Regions from separate parts of the Homo sapiens genome. Here region 2 is linked to region 1. Evidence: promoter capture Hi-C in human tissues and cell types (Jung and others, 2019). All regions are on one chromosome and are shown on one strand. Each heading gives the region's core, a stretch centred on a gene start or on the middle of the fragment in contact. The rest is flanking DNA. Distances are from core to core; before and after follow the strand shown. Region 1 holds the start of KCNK5 (potassium two pore domain channel subfamily K member 5). Region 2 has its middle 24 kb from the start of KCNK17.

Region 1 (6,438 bases), core at 1,261-3,760:
TTTTTTTGGTAGGGGGGTAAATGTTGACAGATTTAACAGGACTGCTAAATAAGAGGCATTTTGTTTGTTCAAATACCTTAAGAAGCCGTCTAGCCTCCAAAGCTATGACCACCAGCTGCACCCGGCTGCCTAACCCCTGGACCCCGCCCCCCCCGCCGTATGCCCCGCCAGCCTTTCCCTTTGCCTTGTGTTTTGAAGTTTATTTTCCCACATTTAGCCTTGAATTCTTTCCTTCCTTCCCCTGCAGTGTTGGAGCAACAGCTTAGAGGGAAACACTTCGAGGGCAGCTCAAGGCTTTATCATCCTTGCCTGCCCTCTTCCCCCTCTAAACAAAGCCCTGGAACAAACTAAACAAAAACTTGTTCTCTAGAGGAATTGTTTCCTCAAGGGAAATCATAAAGCAACCCCCTCCCCACAACACACCCCCCAGGGTAGACGCCCATCAGAAGGAAGCCATGTAGACTCTTCATGCCAGGACTCTTGCTGTTAGGAGGTAAACCAACCAACCATCTACTGAAGCTTATCCTCCCCACCATCACCTCCCATCTGCCTCTACCCGGGAAACTGCTACAGGGCAAGAGACTCTCCACTAAAATCCAACACTAAGCCTGCTAGACTAAACCTCCCCTTCTACAGGACCCCTTGGAGGACAAGTCTCCCCACACACGGCTGCCAGCAAATACGTATATGCTTATCTGTGTGATGTCCATCAATCTGGGGACAAGATTTTGATGTTTTCCAAATGCTTCCAACCTAACAGTCCGTGGCAGAAATAAGGAATGAGGATGGGCTCATTCCCGTTTCTCACATGGGGAAACGGAGGCTGGAAAATGAGCGACGACTAGATAGGCATAAAGTATTGAGGTGCTGCTGTAGACTAAACGTTGCTTCTCATCAGACCTCCTTTCTGGCATCTTTCACCCTGAGAGCAAGGTAACACCCTGGACAATCTACCCCTACTCCCTACCTGCTGCAATCTAGAACTTTCACCCAGGTCCTGGTCATTCCACTGGGGGAGCAGGCCAAGAAGAGTTGATGGTTGAAGCTGAGCCCTCGAGAAACTGGGGTAGAGGGCCTCGGTCCCCAAATGGGCCCCAAGGTCTCAGCCAGGATAGGCAGCCCGTTTATCCAAAGTGAGGTCAATGCCACCCATCGGGCTGTGCACCAGAAAATAAGCGGTTCCCAATGTCAGCACGGAGGGAAGTCCCCCACCCACCCCAATTCCGCACACACTCTCCTCCCCCATCATAAAGGGACTACGCGGGTATTATTCGTTTGTGCAACCTGCTACTTTCACAAAGTTTTACTCCAAGCCCTTGAAGGATGTCTCCGCGAGATAAGCCTTCCCGGAAGCCTGAGCGCGTCCCCAGCATTCCAGGCACCAGCCCTCATCCCGTGGGTTCGGGCCCCACAGAGCCTCCAGCTCCTCTCCGGAACTCTGCTGGGGGCGGAAGATTTTGCCCAGGCTCGGGCTGAGGGACCCTCCCGCCACTCTGCCGGGTTCACGTTCCTTAAGAAAAGCCTGGCAGGCGTGGCACTGGCCCTGGAGCGGGGAGGTGGAGACACGAGGGGATGGCACCAGGCTTGGCTCCCAGACTCCGGGAGCGTCTCCAGGGAAAGATAAACGCCTTTATCCGTCCCACAGCCTCTTCCCAAGGAGGGAGGTACCGTCACACCCACACTGAAACACCGTGGAGCCTAGTTCACCCGGGAATCAACTCCAATTTGTCTCCGGCCAAACTAAGTTCCAAAGAGTCTCCGCGCCTGGGGGACCCCTGTGTCCCTCGGGTGAGCGACAGATCCTCGAAGCCTGACCCATGATGAGACACGCTCTCTCATCACCCCCTGGACCTTCCACAGGGACTGAGGGTCACCCAAAGCTGTGAAGGGGTCTTCCTTTCAGCGCCCCCTAAAGCTCAAGCCAGCTTCAGATGTATATGGGGGTACAGGCGGCGACTGACCTCTAGGATCTTGTCCAGGCCCTCCTGACCCAGGCACGGGAACTCCTTGAGCAGATGCAGCTTCTGTGTGTAGTAGTTTTTCTTGGCCTCCTTCCAGTGTGGCTCCTCCAGCACTTCGAAGATCGCCGCCCCGATGGCCAGGTAGAAGATGATGGCCGAGGTGAGCAGAGGGCCCCGGTCCACCATGGCTCCCGAGCGGCCGCCTCCTAGAGAAAGCCTCTCCTAGCCCCAGCTGCTACCAGTCCGCCCGCCCTCCAGCCTCTGAAAACAGCTGTTTGAATTTGGAGCTCCGCATGCGCAGTGCCCGGTACTCACCCCCCGCAAGCACCGCTCCCCGGACAGAGTTGCTTGGCCAAGTTGGCCCACGGAGTGCGGGGAGCTGCGTGGGGCCCCACTCACGCGGCCCGGGGTGGGCGAACACCAGCGGGGCTGAAAGGGCGCCCTGGACCGCGGATGCGTAAGGAGCGGGAAGAACACAGGACTTGACTCTGGGCAGACACGTGGGCCGCTTCTCCACGCGTCGCTCCTCCGCGCGCCACTAGCAGTATGCGCCGCGCCCGCCTCCGCACGCCTCTTTAACCAGCGCCCGGCGCGCTCTGCCCCCTTGCTCCGGGCTCCGACCGGGGAGGAGCCCAGGCGGGCCCCGCCCCTTCCCCGCACAAGCAGCCCGGCGAGCGCAGGAGTGAGCGCGAGGTGAGCGCTAGAAGAGGCTTGGCGCTCCCCGCGCTCCCAGGGTCAGCCGCCAGGGGAGGCTGCGCCGCCCGCCCAGACCTGCACGCCCTGCGGTGCCCGAGGGGTTGCGGTCTCAGGGACTCGTGTTTGTTATTAGGACTGGCGTGTTAACTAAAATGATTGTGACTGAGGTCAGGAGTTTATTGCTTTTGTTATTTTTATTGTAATTCCATTTTCATTTACTGATGTTTCTTCCAAAAAAGTCTAATGCTCAGTCTCTCCGTGTCTCTCTTCCACACACTTTCTTGTAAGCCTGAGGAAGGGGGTTAGAACGGGGCTGAAGAAGCTGTAGGGAATCAGAGGACATCAGGAACTAATCCAGCCACCCACGCGTGATTCCTCCCCCTCACCCCGTTCTCACCTACCCGGGTGAGAACCCTGCATCTGGAAGGAGTGGGCAGCTCAATTCGTGGCACCCCTGTGCGCCCCCCCAATACACAGTATCTCTACGGGAAACACTTGGCCTCTTTTCTTTTTTTCTTTTCTCTTTTCTTTTCTCTTCTCCTTTCCTCTCCTTTCCTCTTTTCTTTCAGACGGAGTCTCACTCTGTCGCCAGGCTGGAGTGCAGTGGCACTATCTCGGCTCACTGCAACCCCCGCCTCCCGAGTTCAAGCAGTTCTTCTGCCTCAGCCTCTCAAGAAGCTGGGACTACAGGCGCACGCCATCACGCCCAGCTAATTTTTGTATTTTTAGTAGAGACGGGGTTTCACCGTGTTGGCCAGGCTGGTCTCAATTCCTGACCTCAGGTGATCCGCCCGCCTCAGCCTCCCAAAGTGCTGGGATTACAGGCGTGAGCCACCGCGCCCGGCCCACTTTCATACATATGCTCCAGCTGATTTAAAATTCCACCCCCGCCACCTTATCTCCCTCGTTGGCTTTATGTCCTTCCTAGTACTAAATTCCCTCTGCTATATTATATAACTTTATTTATTGTTTACTCTGTATTGTGCCCTCTCCCCGCCACACACACACAGACACACACACACACACACACACACACACACACACACGGAAATGTCTGCTGGGGAGATGGAGAATCTGTCTTGTGTAATGATGTATCCACAGTGCTTGTTACATACATAGCAGACACTCAATAACCATGTGTGCAATGAAGGAGTGAATGAATTTGTTAAAAACAGGTGCCCAGGATGTTTCTAACTCGCCTTGCTGCCATTCTCTGAGCTCTTGTAAACCCCAGGAAGTACTGAATCCCTTCCATGCATCATAAGCAGGCCCTGTCATTCGACCCACTTTGCAGTGAGGAAAAAAGCTCAGTGGGTTAGTTTGTTCAGTCTTTCAACCAGCACCAGTCAGAAGTTGGAGGGGGAACCTCCTTTCAGTGCTCTGTACCAGGGGCTGGCCCTGCCCTTCTCTGGCCTCTGTAGGGGCAGGTACTGGAGTGGCCAGAGTCCCTGAGCACTGTCCCCTGGCCAAGGCCTTTTCTTTCCATCGAGAAGAAGGGGAGTCATTTCTCACCTCCTACCCACCCTGTACCCAGGCTGTGGCCTGAACCCCAAGGTGTCAAGAGACACTTTACTTGGGGAGGGGGGTATCTGTACTATCTCCAAATCTGGCTGGAATGGAGGGGTTAGGGATACAGTTGGAAGCATTGATCTGATTTTGCTGATGTTTCTGTCTCTCCTTATGGCAACATGAGCGTGTCCAGAGAAGAAGACCAGAGCAGGAAGCTGGGGAGCCCCAGATTTCCTGATACTGCATCCCTGAGGTGTGCAGTGCCAGTCCCCTCAGGACCCCCCTGGCCAAGGATCATCCTGGACAAGGCCCTGGGGGTGCTTCTCTGTAGACAACCCACTCCCAGCACCAGGCCTCTCACCCAACCCAACATATCCATCTTCTCTAAGCCTTGCTGACCTCCTGCCTACCCTGTCCCCCAGGCTGTGGCCTGAACCCTAGCTCTGCAGTCTCATTCTCCAGCCCTCCAGCTGGGATGGAAACCAAGCATGGGTTCCGGATCCCCCCTCTCTGGATGGAGTTCACCCTGTTTGTGAAGAGTTCAGGGCTGCAGTGTGAACGCTTCAGTGAGCATGGGGTGGGGGCAGTTTGAGAGGCCACAGGCCCTCTCTTTGTTTGGAAAATTCCCTACCATTCCTCTCCCACCTCCGGTCTGTGTTCTCTTCCTAAGAAAATAAAGGGCCTCTTCCTATTTCGGTCTCACAGCCTCATGAAAATGCTGAACACTTTGAGATGAATTGATTTTTATTCGAGGCCTCTGTATGTTGTAGTTTCTTTGTCCTTCCACTCTGTTTCTGCATTTCCTGTCCCCTTCTTCCTTCTTGCTCTCCATGTGGTGCTGACTGACTCCTCATCCTCTCCTTCTGTCGCCGCATCCTTTGCTTTCCTGTATTTTTCCAAAGCTCCTTCCCCAGCTCTTCATTCTCCCTCCTCCTGCCTCTCTCCTTTGTCTCCATCCCAGTTGAATGTGCTTCCCCTCCCCCAACTTCCCCTCCCCTCCCCATCTCCCCACTCCCCTCTCCAACTCCCCTGCCCCAGCCAGATAGTTGGATCAACTTGACCTTCTGTAGATCAGGGGCACACACCTGCTCTCTGCACAGCAGCCAGTGGGGGCTTTTATAAAATGTAAACTGTGCTGAAACTATCGAATATTTAGACAACACGAGCCTTAAGATTGGAAAAGGGAAAAGTGGGTAAATGGGAATGAGGTGATGTGAGATATATATTTTCCTACAGGGCTGATAAATAAATCCATTCCAATAGCATACGTGTAGTTCTTAGTATTATGATTATTGATCAGGGTTGATAATAATTTCAGAGTGCAACCTTTTGGAAGGCAATCAGCTCTGAGGAATGTAAACCAACAATAAAATTCTAGGCCCCTCCCAAGCAAGCAAATGGACCCTTCCTCTTGACCAAGGGCATTCTCAAGTAAACACAAAACACTAGTTCAGGCCATGATGGAATGGGTGGTTGGACATGGCTCCTTTTTTTTTTTTTGAGAGGGCGTCGCACTCTGTCACCCAGGCTGGAGTGCAGTGGCACAATCTCAACCCACTGCAACCTCTGCCTCCTGGGTTCAAGCAATTCTCATGTCTCGGCCTCCCAAGTAGCTGGGACTACAGGCATGAGCCACCACGCCCGGCTAATTTTTTGTATATTTAATAGAGATGGGGTTTCACCATGCTGGCCAGGCTGGCCTCAAACTCCTGACATCAACTGATCTGCCCACCTTGGCCTCCCATAGCACTGGGATTACAGGTGTGATCCAAAGCGCCCAGCCGACATGCCTCCTTATAACTTCCTCCCTTTGGAATTCAGGCACAGCTGACCAGCATTAATATTAAAACAGAGACCTTAAGGCACAACCTGGCCAACATGGTGAAACCCTGTCTCTACTAAAACTACAAAAATTAGCTGGGCGTAGTGGCTTATGTCTGTAATCGCAGCTACTCAGCAGGCTGAGGCATTAGAATTGCTTGAACCCGGGAGGCAGAGGTTGCAGTGAGCCGAGATGGCACCATTGCACTCCAGCCTGGATGATAGAGACTCCATCTCAATAAAAAAAAAAAACAAAAACCCAAAAAACAGAGACCTTAAGACTGACAGTACAGACTCTTTGTAGCAATAAGAATCATGACAGCAGGCCCTGAGAGAAATCGAAGTATTTTACCCCAAAATATATTCATTTGGCCTATTTTGAAATGCTCCTGCAGGAGCGCTCCCTGCGCTCCCGGGGTCGTCTGGCACCTTTGTAAGTTGGATAACGAAC
Region 2 (6,438 bases), core at 2,356-4,855, 61 kb after region 1:
CTCTTTCCCCACCGCCAGCCCTAAGCAACTACTAATCTACTTTTACCCTCTATAGATTTCCCTGTCTGGGCCTGTTTTGGAGGTAAGATCATGTTTATGACCTGGGGCATTGTGGTAGAAACTCCTGATTTCTCCCACTATTCAATCTTTTACCTTTTCATAACATAATCTCACTATTTAGATGGGCACTTTGTCACCTGCTAAGAGATTACATTTCCCAGTTTCCATTGAAGGGAGATGTGACTGTGCTACCAAGTTCTAACCAATGAAATGTAAGAAACTGTTCCACTGGCTGTTTAATAAAGAAATCTCCTTAAAATGGTGTGGAGTGTGGCGTGTGTTCTTCTCCCCTTTTTCCTTCTTCCTTTCTGACTGAATGCAGACCAGATGGCTGGAGCTCAAGCAGCCATCTTGAACCACGAGATGATGCAGAAGGGGATGATGCTGACTGCTTAGCTCTAGGAACTCAAAGGAGAAATCTGATTCAGAGATAACAATTTGAGAGACACCGAACTGTAGTTAGTCGTTGAAATCTTGGCAGGGTACTTCATGACTTAGGGAGCAAACAGAGAATGAGAAAAGAAGATGGCCTAAGGCTGAGCCTTGAGGAAAATCAAGGTTTACAGAAGAGATGAGCTGGCAATGGAAATTCCAGTTAAGGGCTCCAGCCTCCACCGGCCATATTATAGGGTCTTTAGTGTCTTCCTCTGCAACTCCCTTATCTGTAACTATCAAGATTCTTAGAGATTTACTCAGCCCTGAAGGGCTAAGTCCTGAGTTTCAGCACCAGGGAGAACTAGAGCTATATAACCCAAATATGTCCACAAATCTCAAGGCCACAGGTCACTATTATAAATTGGTACTGCACGTTCCTCTCCCTGAATATCTCAAAGGATTTATGCAAATTGATCCGCCTCTTCCCCTAAGCGCTGAACAATGGATGCTTCGTTGCCCAACATTTGAGTATCTAAATGCTCTCCAGAAGTGACTCTTTGCCGGACAAAGAGGGACAGTTGTCCTCCATTTCAGGAAGGAAGGAAAAAACCAAGACGGGAAAGAAGGAGACAGAAAGGAAGACAGCAAAGAAAAAACGAAATAAGGAAAGAGGGAAAAAATACAGACAGATTATCGTGCTATACCTGAAAAGGTGTGGCCAGGTAGGCAGGAGGAAACCCAGGAGACCCGCAGCCACACAGATGCCAAGCTGCTGAGAGGGGCAAGTAAGGTGAGGTTGGAAAGTGTCTCCCGGACTTTGTAACATGGAGGTCTGCCCTCGCAGAGATGTTTTGGGGTCAGACTCGGCGCTGGAGTGGGTGAGGAGTGTGGCCAGACGAGGAAGCAGGGTTAAAGGCTGTCTTTGGAGGCACTGCCAGGTGGTGTGAACACCCAGAGCTTCCAAGTCAGGCTGGAGGCTGGCTTGAATGCTGGCCCCAACATCACCATCTCACTGAAATGAGTTAACATTTCCGGGCACACGGTAGGTGTTGAGAAAGCAGTAGTTTCATTTTTATCCCTGTTTCCCACTAAGGGTACCCATGGGCAGTTCCATTCTGTGGGTGTTGGTTACTGTAGGCCAAAATGAAATGTCCAGTGGCACTATGTCTTTCTATCTTCCTCTAGCAGGTCAGTCCAGAAATGTCCTTGTGGCTATGGGAGAGAGGGAAAAAGAGAGAGAGAGAGATTGAGAATAAACAAGTCAATTTCACAAATACTTTCAAGCCCAATTGGCTAAAGCAAATCCCATGGCCAAGCCCATACAGCCTGAGTGAGAAGTCACATGACAAAGGGCAGGGATCCTGGGAGGGATGAAGAACTGGGGCTTTCTTTAGTCTACCATGGCAAACTACTGTAGGGGCTAAGGGAAAGTTCCCCTTGGCCTGCTGAAGGTTTGCTGAAAAATCAACTCATAAAAGGGGGATTAATTGGAGAAAAGGCATACAAATTTACTTACCATATATACCCAGGAGCCTTCAGAATGAAGACCCAGTCTCCCAATGGGGTACAGAAGCTTGTGTACCATCTTGAGTTTACAGAGAGAATGGAGGCTTGGATCCTGGCAAAACATGTTTATGGTAGTGGGGAGAAGAGGAATTCTGGTAAGGGGGAATAAGTGGTTGCTAGGGAGAGTTCAATGGTCTTGAAGAACATACAAGGGTCTAGGACAAGGGCCCGAAGAGCAGACAAGGGCTTCTGACAAAAGCCTATCCAGATTTGTTGACAGACTTTGGTCTTCCTTCTTGAGAAATGGGTTCAGTTAATGAAAACTCAGGAAGGGACTGGAGGTAATTGTTTCCTTCTTTGGGAGGTCCAGACTTTAGGCAGACAAAGAACTTCAGAGAATCACATTTACATTCCAACAACAGGAAGAAAGAAGGGCTGAAATGGGATGGATGCCCCTCCCTTTAAGGACAATCCCCAGTGGTTGTACACACAACTGCTGACTACATCCTGTGGTAAATGCTGTGCCCATTCTCACTTCCTTACATAGTCATAGCATTTGATAATAGCATTAACTGGTCATAGAGCGGCTCAACTGATGACTGCATTTTACAGCCTCCTGTACAGCTAGATGTGGTCATGTGACTAAGTTCTAGCCGGTAGAGTGTGAATAGATATGATATTTACAGCTACTACTTGTGACCTAAGAGGGAAGAAGTATGATCTTCCTTTCCACTTCCCCCTGTCTGGGATGTGGGTATGATGGCAGGAGTGGCAGCAGCCATCCTACATGAGATGAAGGTCTTATATTGAGAATGAGAGACCAACAAGATACAAGGGCCATACGCTCTTATGCTACATTAGAAACAAATACATTTCTCCTTTACTTAGGCTGCTACTATTTTGGGTGTCTCTGGTTTTAGTAGCCAAACCAATATCCCGTCTAATACACAACCCATCAGTCTGTACTTATCATAAGGCGACACTGCCTCAAGGGTGCCTGGGAAATGTGATCTTTATTCTGGGAAGCCATGTGCCTGGCTGATGACTGGGGGGAACATCATTAATTAGGAAGAGCACATACCTGAGCAAAACCCCAGTCCCAGCCACTGAAGGAATAATAGCAATAGTCACTGTGGGTACTTATGGGGAGCTGGGCACTGTGCTGGCCACTTCACCTCCATGTCCTCATTGAATCTGCACAGCTACTCTGAGGACAAGTATTAGAATGTCAATTTTAAAATTTTAAATTTTTAAAAGACTGGCCAGGTGTGGTGGCTCACGCTGTAATCCCAGCACTCTGGGAGGCCGAGGCGGGCAGATCACCTGAGGTTGGGAGTTCAAGACCAGCCTGGCCAACATGGAGAAACCCCGTCTCTACTAAAAATCAAAAATTAGCCAGACGTGGTGGTACATGTCTGCAATCCCAGCTACTTGGGAGGCTGAGGCAGGAGAATCACTTGAACCCAGGAGGTGGAGGTTGCAGTGAGCCGAGATCACGCCATTGCACTCTAGCCTGGGCAACAGAGAGAAACTCTGTCTCAAAAAAAAAAAAAAAAAAAAAAAAAAAAGGAGGGAGACTGAGGCCCAAGAGTTTAAGAGACTGACCAAGGTCACACAGCTCCTAGGAGTGGAACTGGGATTCAGACAAAGTCTCTCTAGGTCTGTTCATCTCCTAAACCAGTGGTTCTCCAAGCATGCTTCCTGGGCCAGCAGGATCAGCATGAAAACTTGTTAGAAAAGCAAATTATCTTAGAAATCAGATGCTTGGGGTGGGGCCAGCGATGTGCAGTTGAATAAGCCCTCCAGGTCATACAGGTGCACACTCAGTTTGAGAGCCACTGCTCCAAGCCAAACCTAAAAATGGTGCACACTTCACCTCCTCTCTCCCCAGACAAACCCAACAAAGAATAATAATCTAACCATGACCAGATCTAGACCTCAGTTCACCTGCCGGCTCTGCCTTGGAACTTAGCTTAACTTAAACAAGCAGGGTCTCCTCTGGATTGGATGAGACCTCCCTCCTCCCTACTAGGGGTAGGCAGAGAGATCATGGCCCCAGGCCCCAGATGGAGTTCTGGGGTGAAAACAGGAGGTTCACACAGTCTTGGAATCAAGCCCTTTGAGCATCTGATATTTCCGTTGGATGCATGAATTTTGGGTGTCACTCATATTCTCTCTCTCTCTCCTTCTCCCTCCCTCCATTCTCCCAGTCTCAGGACACTACTGCCCAAGGCATAGTTGGTTTCAAGGTAGTGGGAGTTTGTGACATAGGCTTGGGTGGGATGGGGGTCATTTCTTCTTCCTTCCATGGGCAGGAGGTGATGAGATGATGACTCATGTTTATTGATGTCTGAGGCAGACCATTTTCTGAACTCTTTCCATGCATTAACCCCCTTATCCTAGCAACCATGTGTGGGAGGTACTATTACTATTCCCATGTTAGAGGTGGAGAAACCGAGGCACCGACAGGTTAAGCACCTTTCCACAGTCTGTCACACAGCAGTGAGCGGAGCAGCTGAGCGCCGAACATAATGTGGCTCCATTGTCTGTGCTCTTAGCCGCTGAGCTTTTCAGCCTCTAAATAATAGCTAATGAATTCATGGGTTTTTTTTGTTTTCTTTGTTTTTTTTTTGTTTTTGGCCTTTTTTTTACATTCCAGGTACTGTTGTCATTGCTTTACATATTTAAAAAAGTCGGGGAGTGGTATTCTTACCATCACAAGAAGTTAGGAATTTCCAGCAGAGCCTTGGCATTGGTGGATTGAACATTTGTGGTTTGGGTTACTTTTTAGTGGATCGTGTGTGTGTGTGTGTGTGTGTGTGTGTGTGTGTGCGCGTGCCTGCAAGCATCTATCTCACCAGGAGAAGTGGGGAAGGAGAGGCCAGAGGTTGTTGCTCTCCCTGTGGTGTCATGTTCTAAAATGAGCCCGCACATCACACTTGTGGTTCCTGGGGAAAAAAATAAAACAATCTCCACTACCAGTCAAAACAACAATATTTGTACAGCTCCGGTAATAACCTCTGGAACCCTCCTCCCTTCTGGCTTGCAGACAGTGCCTTGCCCTCAGCTCACTCTTACTCCCAGGGTCCCTGCAGCCTTCTTCCCACGAAGCTCATGTTCTTGGGCTCACAGTAGTCTCCTGGTGGTTCAGGGCTCACCTGTCCTGGAAAGTGTTCCAGATGGCTTTGGCCTCCACTTTGGGTAGGACTCAGGACTTGAGAACGCAATGCCACCATGTCATTGCTCTCTCTTCCTTTGACCTGTGTGATGCCAGACTCCATGGTTCTCCTTCTACCCCTGTGATATAGAGTCCTGTGTCTCTTCTTCTTCCTCAAGTTCAGTTGTTTCCTTCTCTTTCTTCCTTTCTTTTCCATTTACCTTTCCCTTTCCTTCCCTTCTCTTCCCTGTCTTAGCACTCCTTCTGTCCCGCCTCATTCCAACTCCTCTGCCTAGCTCTTGAGGTTCTTCTACCTGGCCTACTCTCCCTCCTCCCTACCTGCTGATCAGGGACCAGTTCAGGTCCTCATACCTTGATCCAGAATTTCCTGATGCCTCCAGGCTGACTGTATCACCTCTCCTTCTGACCACCTATGGCTCTCCAGCACTGAGTCAGCCCCACTAGCTCAAGCATTTGAATCACTCTCAACTTACTAGGCATTCATTTAAACATTTATTCTGCACCCACCATTACAAGGCCTGCCTTCTCCTCTGCATGAAAAACTCCTACACATCCTTCAAAGCTCACCCAGATGTATTCCCGTCCTGCCTTGGCTCCCCTCTCCCATAGCCAAGTGGGTGTTCCTGTCTGCCCTCATGCCTCTTGTACGTTACAGGAATGGTTGACATATACGCAGCAGACGCTGACAGTGCCCTGCCTGCTCTGCACCCACCATGCTCATGTACGCTGCAGGTTTCCAATCCGCAAATGCTGGGGAGTTAACACCATCCTACTCCAAGTGATGAGGAATGGGATTTGGGGAATATATGCCCCCGGCTCTCTACCCCTTAGAGGGGACAACTGTAAGCCATGCTCTATGCAGGCTTGCAGAGGTCTCCAGCGGGAAGGAGCGCAACTGCCCACAGTGGTCACCTGCTCATTAATGCTGTCTGCATTGTTTCCCTTTTCTTCTCTTGTTTTAATTCCATGCTTCTTGGAATCATTTCCCAAATAAACTATTTGCAGCCAGATCCTGTCCCAGGATCCACTTGTGGGGAATTCAAATGGAGAAGACAAATCGTATAGAACTTGCACTGCGCCAGACACTAGGTTCTCGATTTACATTAACACATTTAATCCACACAACAGCTTTCCATATAAGGCAGATACCGCTATTAGCATTTCTACTTCATATTTGAGGAAATTGAGGCATAGGGAGGCTAAGTAGGAGGCACAAGTGTCCCGCTTTTCCTGGAAATAAGGGGGTTCCTTGGAGATGGTACTTTCTCAGGACAGTGTGAGGATGAGAGGAAAGATGAAATGAGTTGGTCACCCAAGGT

The links. The method cuts DNA at HindIII sites, captures the fragments that hold promoters and counts their contacts. A contact is called where the count stands out against the background at its distance.
Region 2: a fragment that was not itself captured here is called in contact with the fragment with the promoter of KCNK5 in region 1 in 1 of the 25 tissues and cell types used here (psoas muscle).

The regions. Positions count from the first base shown.
Region 1 is chr6:39,226,965-39,233,402 of GRCh38, forward strand. KCNK5 (potassium two pore domain channel subfamily K member 5) reads right to left here and starts at 2,511. Exons shown (of 5, transcript NM_003740.4): 1 at 1,962-2,511. The coding sequence starts at 2,147. RefSeq lists silencers at 1,189-1,258, 2,272-2,351, 2,452-2,801 and an enhancer at 3,089-3,816. The HindIII fragment of the contact is 12,761 bases long and covers 1-6,438 here.
Region 2 is chr6:39,287,156-39,293,593 of GRCh38, forward strand. No RefSeq gene overlaps it. Among named protein-coding and RNA genes, the nearest start is that of KCNK17, 24 kb to the right of the region's middle. RefSeq lists an enhancer at 4,311-4,812. The HindIII fragment of the contact is 7,015 bases long and covers 99-6,438 here.